Linked DNA regions of Homo sapiens: region 2 is linked to region 1. Evidence: promoter capture Hi-C in human tissues and cell types (Jung and others, 2019). All regions are on one chromosome and are shown on one strand. Each heading gives the region's core, a stretch centred on a gene start or on the middle of the fragment in contact. The rest is flanking DNA. Distances are from core to core; before and after follow the strand shown.

The links. Contacts are between HindIII fragments. The study calls those that stand out against the background at their distance.
Region 2: the fragment with the promoter of GSTM5 here is called in contact with a fragment that was not itself captured in region 1 in 3 of the 25 tissues and cell types used here (lymphoblastoid cells, mesenchymal stem cells and small bowel).

The regions. Positions count from the first base shown.
Region 1 is chr1:109,499,838-109,502,634 of GRCh38, reverse strand. It overlaps CYB561D1 (cytochrome b561 family member D1), which reads right to left. Exons shown (of 3, transcript NM_182580.3): 3 at 2,200-2,797. Among named protein-coding and RNA genes, the nearest start is that of CYB561D1, 7.1 kb to the right of the region's middle. RefSeq lists an enhancer at 2,647-2,797. The HindIII fragment of the contact is 8,294 bases long and covers 1-2,797 here.
Region 2 is chr1:109,710,846-109,713,589 of GRCh38, reverse strand. GSTM5 (glutathione S-transferase mu 5) reads right to left here and starts at 1,339. Exons shown (of 8, transcript NM_000851.4): 1 at 1,242-1,339; 2 at 897-972; 3 at 407-471; 4 at 25-106. The coding sequence starts at 1,277. The HindIII fragment of the contact is 7,760 bases long and covers 1-2,744 here.

The sequences.
Region 1 (2,797 bases), core at 26-2,525:
TGACAGGATGAAGCTGATAAGGAGAGCAAGTCTGATGAGGACTACTTGGAGTTTGGAGTTCTCTCTTCTGTTTTGGCCTGTGCCAAGCCCAAGGAAGTCCATGGCTGCATCTCTTCAACACCCCCCACCCACCCACCACCCACATCCTCACCACCTCCCCCAAACCACAAGAAGTTCCTTAGATTCTGGCCAAGATGTGCAATTTTGTCTGCCATGCCTTGCAGCACTTACCCTGGCTCCTCTTAGGTAGCACTTGCGGGGAGGGAGGAGGCTAATATGACAGTTTTCTTTGAGAATAGGTAAGAGTTCAGTGCATTGGTTAACCTGGCCTCTCTTCCCCCCAGTCTCTCAACTCCTTCCCTTTCTGCATGCACTTCTTGCACCACTTATCTTGTATCTCCCAGGAAACCAGTGGGGAAGCTTCACTTTCTCCACCCACATAGCAGAAAAGGCTCAGGCCCCTGCAGTGGGACGGTTGGCTTTTCTGGTCTAGTCACAGTCAGCCTGTGCTGAATGCTTCCTCTCCTGGGGCTTGAGAGAGGAAGGCTAAAGCAGCTGCCAGTCAAGCCCCTTCATCAGGCTTCTACACTCTTAGGTGGAAAATGCAAAATGGTGAAGACACTTAGACCTGCCCTGACGCCTCCAATCTAGTCAGCTTGTTTACTCTCCCTGGTTGGAACCATGGCCTGAGAGAACCAACCTGCAGTGAGCCAGGACGTGGAGCCCTGCAGTGGGACTTCTGGATGCCCTTTGGCACTGGCATACATTAGGCAGGAGTCATTGCCTCCAAGGCTGGTGTATGCGTGCATGTGCGCACACATACAGGTTGGCAAGTACTGGAGTTGGATTGTACTTTGTGCTGCATTTCCCTTACCTCCCACTGCTCCCTCACTTGGTCATAGTTTGCTTTTGGGGGGCCTGAGCAGAACTGAGCATCCTTAGAAAGCACCATGAGATAACTGGGTATCTGCTTTAAAGATAGGGGTGCTAGGGGGCCACTCATGTATACTCAGTGAGACAGAGTTGGCTCCTCAGATGCCACTGAATAGCCTGAAGTCGTTCCTTAATCTGCTTCCAACAGAGGTTAAAAACTCATCTGGGAAATCCTAGCAATAGCAGGATTATAAACTGAGATTGTTATTCTGTGATGCATCTGGTGACTAGCTGAGTCTCCTGAGTGGGTGGGTAGGGGGAAGGTCCCCTCACTGGAGGTAATTTCTGCCTACATGAAGGGGTTAAGCCCAGCGCCATGCTGGAGACGGGCTACTTCAAACCACCCTCCAGGGCAGTTCTGCCTTTCAGCTTGTCGTCTTTGTGCAGTGCTGGTGAGAACTGCTGAGGCTCTGCACACAATGCCTGACTAGTGTTTCATTCCTGGATCCCAGGACAGAAAAAGCAATTAAGATAAAAAACGAATATTCAAGCCTCTGCACTGCTGTTTTGCTGTTCCTGCTTCTTTGCATCCACTCCAGGCAGACTGCTGCTGCTCTCAGACAAATGGAATGGAAAGTATTCTTCCCCAATTTAAAACTTAAACAGAACTGCTTTCAGTGTGTGTGTGTGCGTGTGTGTGTGTGTGTATGTGAATGCCAATAAAGCACTTGGAGGAGGAGGGGACTGATCCTATTCCACGAGCCTGAAATGGGGAAAGGGAAACCAGGCTGTGGACCCTGGGAAGCCAGGGGTCCCTGCTCTGCATCTCCAATGCCTGAGGCAGGTGTTGCTCATTCTGTGGCTTCGGTAAACAGAGGGTCTGTGGCGATGCTGTTTGCTCCAGTTGCTCCTCCCTTCCTAGCTTGTCTGCTCCACTTTTCCCTCAGAAGGGCAGAATTAGGAGAGATTTAGATAGACTTGTGACCTGCAGCTCCCTACGAAGACCAGCTCCAGGAACTTCAGGCTGGACCTAGGGAGGAATTGTACTGACTCCGAGATCTGCAGTCTGCCCTGTGATTTGGGAACACCAGGTAGGCAGCACTTACGGCAAACTTCACTAGTCATGGCCGTGGTGGCATTTCTGGCAGGAGTTGGTAAGAGCTGACCTTGCATCTGGAAGGAAGAAATGTGTCCATGTTTTCTTATGATGGCCAGAACAACTCTCTGAGACTTAGATCCCCTGTCATTATCCATAACTGTTTATTGCCTAAGAAGCATAAAGCCCAAAGCCTGGCTCAGTGAAAGAGAAGGACAAGAACATAATAATACCACCTGTTTACATGTGTTTAATGCTTTGAATTTTCCAATTCCTATTAACATTCATTCTCTCATCAAACCCTCACAACATCCCTGTGAGGTAGGTCAGGCAATAAGTGGTTTGCCCACAGCCACACCAGTGATAGGGACGGAGTAAACCCATACTGCAGGTTTCCCAGCCCCCAAGCTGATGCACCTTTCATTTCATGTTACACAGGATCTTTGTGCCAACCAGACACAGGAGCATCAAGAGCACTACCAGAAGCCTCCCTGCTCTCTGAGCTTGCAGAGGGGACCCAGAAATGCTGGGCTTGAGGCATCAAGACCAGGGGTGCCCCCTGTAGGCCAAGCCAGGTAAACAGAAGGAAGGGCAGGAGTACTGGAAGTTCAGGCTCAACAGCCACCCCTGCCACCACCATAGGTCTCAGCCTAGCATACACTGTGTTCCCTACATATCTTGACCTTTGTCAGGTGCAAGTCTTATTAGTTTACTGAGAGGACTCAGTGCCCACTCCCAGACGAGAAGTCACTGCAAGGCGTGGCTAGCAGCAAGATTCCTGACTTCCTTCCCACAGTGCCTTCCCATTCTGTTACACTCTGCAGCCCA
Region 2 (2,744 bases), core at 90-2,589, 210 kb before region 1:
CACATTGCAGCCACCCACACTCACACAGGTTGTGCTTGCGGGCAATGTAGCGCAGGATGGCATTGCTCTGGGTGATCTTGTGAGCCCCATCAATCAAGTAGGGCAGCTGGATAGATGGGAAACCGGGGAAGCTCAGTTGGGCCACCAGGCTCCCCAGCATCCCCTTCCCATATGCAAGGGCAGAGAGGAGACCAGGGCCTGCTCATGGCAGGCCTGAGATAGAAATACTGTCACACTAATAAATGAGCTGGGACACAGAACATCATGCAAGGGCTGTGTAGACAGCCAAGAGTGAGAGGAATTGGGCAGAAGACTCCTGATCTTAACACCTCTAAGGTGGGGAGAGGAGATGCAGTCAGAGACACGTCGCACTTTCCCCCAAAACCGCCCCTTCCCCTGCACCTACATTGGGAAAGTCCAGGCCCAGCTTGAATTTTTCATTCAGCCACTGGCTTCTGTCATAGTCAGGAGCTGTGGTGGGGAAGAAGTGAAAACAAACCTCCCCAGAGCCCAGCCCTCCTTCCCGGGGACCCTCCCAAGGAGCCAGTGGCAAGATCCCTGAGACAGGTGGATCTAGAATCTGACCACTCAGTCCCACATCCCAGGGTTCAGGGAGAAAGAATCCCACTGAGGGCTCTGGACCCCACAACGGCTAAGGCTTCCAGGGTTTAGGGAAGCTCTGAGGGACACCCAACCCAATTAGACAGGGTGTCCAGCATCCCGCCCCAGCATTCTGCCTTGCAAGGCCAGAGGGCTCACTCACGGGAGCTCAGGGAAGGGACAGCCTGCAGCTCCAGCAGGGGAGGCCTGCAGAGGCAGCCACAGGTGGCCACCATGGGTTGCTTGGTGCCAACTCAGCGTGAGTGGGCAGGGCCCGGACACGAGGGTGCCATTACCGTCCCCCAGCGTGTACTTCTTTTCCACATAGCTTGAGTCTGTGTATTCCAGGAGCAAGCGGATGGCGTGGGCCAGCTGGGAGAGATGGCCCGCGGCTCGGGTCAGAGATGGAGGGTCCCTGACTTGGTGACTTTCTCTGCACCAGGCCAGCCCCTAGTCTATACTGCACGTACCCGTCGCCTCCTCTACCCGCCCCCACCCCCAAACACACACACAGCGTCATGCACAGGCCCTTCTGAGGCGGGCAGCCCTGAAGAGGAACGGTCCCTAGAGCCAGTCCTGCAGCTACTCCACACATCCCCGCCTCCGCCCCCTGTCCCACCCACCAGAGGACCCTCGCTTACCCCACGGATGTCCCAGTACCCCAGAGTCATGGGCATGGTGCTGGTTGGTGCGGATTCTGCAGACAGGCATCAGCGGAGCGGGGCTCAGACTTTGAGAGGCCCAGGAGGGGACAGGCGGGGCCTTGCTGCGACCCCGCCCCTCGGCCCGCCACAACCCCGAAACACGCCATTCTGTAGGCCCCCGAGCGAGCGCCCGGGGCTGGAATCAATAAGCCCCCTCCCGCCTCCCAGTCCCCAGGGTTCCGGGAGCGAGGTCAGGGCGCCCAGAAGCCCAAAGCGGGGCTCGGCCTCGCCAGCTTCCCCAACCCGCCCTGAGGCTCCATGAGTCCATCCAGCCCTTGCTAGGTCCACAGCGACTTGGCTGTGCGCTTGAGACACCAGCCAGATCCTAACGGAGCAAAGCTCTTCTCCCTTCTCCTCCCTGCCCGCAGAATCCCTCAGCCTTCTCTCCGCTGCCGAGTTCCCAAGGGCTCTGGGAGACTCCGGCTGCAGGGGTCAGACTAAAAAGTGGTGGTCCCAACCTGGGAATTTAATTCAGCCCCTGTCACTGTAAGAGCAGGACTTCCTCTGATCCGAAAGCTACTCCGAGGGCTTAGTCTCCCCTCTAGCCCCGCCTACACAGGAACAGTGTCAGTGGTATAGGAAGGACCCCCAGGAAAAGGGCCAGAGTAAAGGAAATGTGGTCTGTGTTTTCTGTTAGGGGCCTTTGGATACTGAGTCCTTCGGTCATCTGGCTAAGTACTATGTAAATTAGCCACTTCGTATTTTGGCACAATTTATGAATCGAAATCCAAGGATCAGATCCAGCAAGTTGGTGAGGTATCTGAGGTGCCCCCTAGAAATGTCCAGCCAGTCCACTAGGTGAACCTCACAGAGACCGGAACAGCAACAGCAACAGTGAGTGCAGTGGCCACAGAGAGCAGGCGAGGGAGGATGGAAGAACTTCCCGGACCAAACTGAGGGTCCGGCTGCTATTTCTCTAGGCCCAATAACGAGATGCAGATCAAATGGGGAGGAAGAGAGGTTTTATTTCTGCAACCAGTTACAGGGAGAAGGCCTGGAAATTACTACCAGACCAACTCAAAATTAAAGTTTTCCAGAGCATATATACCTTCTAAGGTATATGTCTACAAGTAAGTGTGCATTCATCTAAAGACATAAGTGATTAACTTCTTTAATCTGTAACTGAGGTCTGGGTCCTGAGGACCTTACTCTGGAGCCTCAGTCTATTTACTTAATCTAAATGGGTCCAGGTGCGGGGGATGATTGCCCTTATCTTGTCTCCTGCTAAATCATGGAGGTTTGGGGAGTTCCTTCAGATGCCCAGTAAACTTGTTTGTGGAGGCCTGGGGAGTTTCTTCAGACTCACAATAAAACTTGTTTAATTCTAAATAGGTCCTGTTAAGAATTCCTTCGTTGTTTTGTCATGCTTTAAGGCCCAGGAAAGGCCTAAGCAAAACTCTTGGTGGGCTTTTGTTACATCCAGCCTCTGTATAAAGGTAC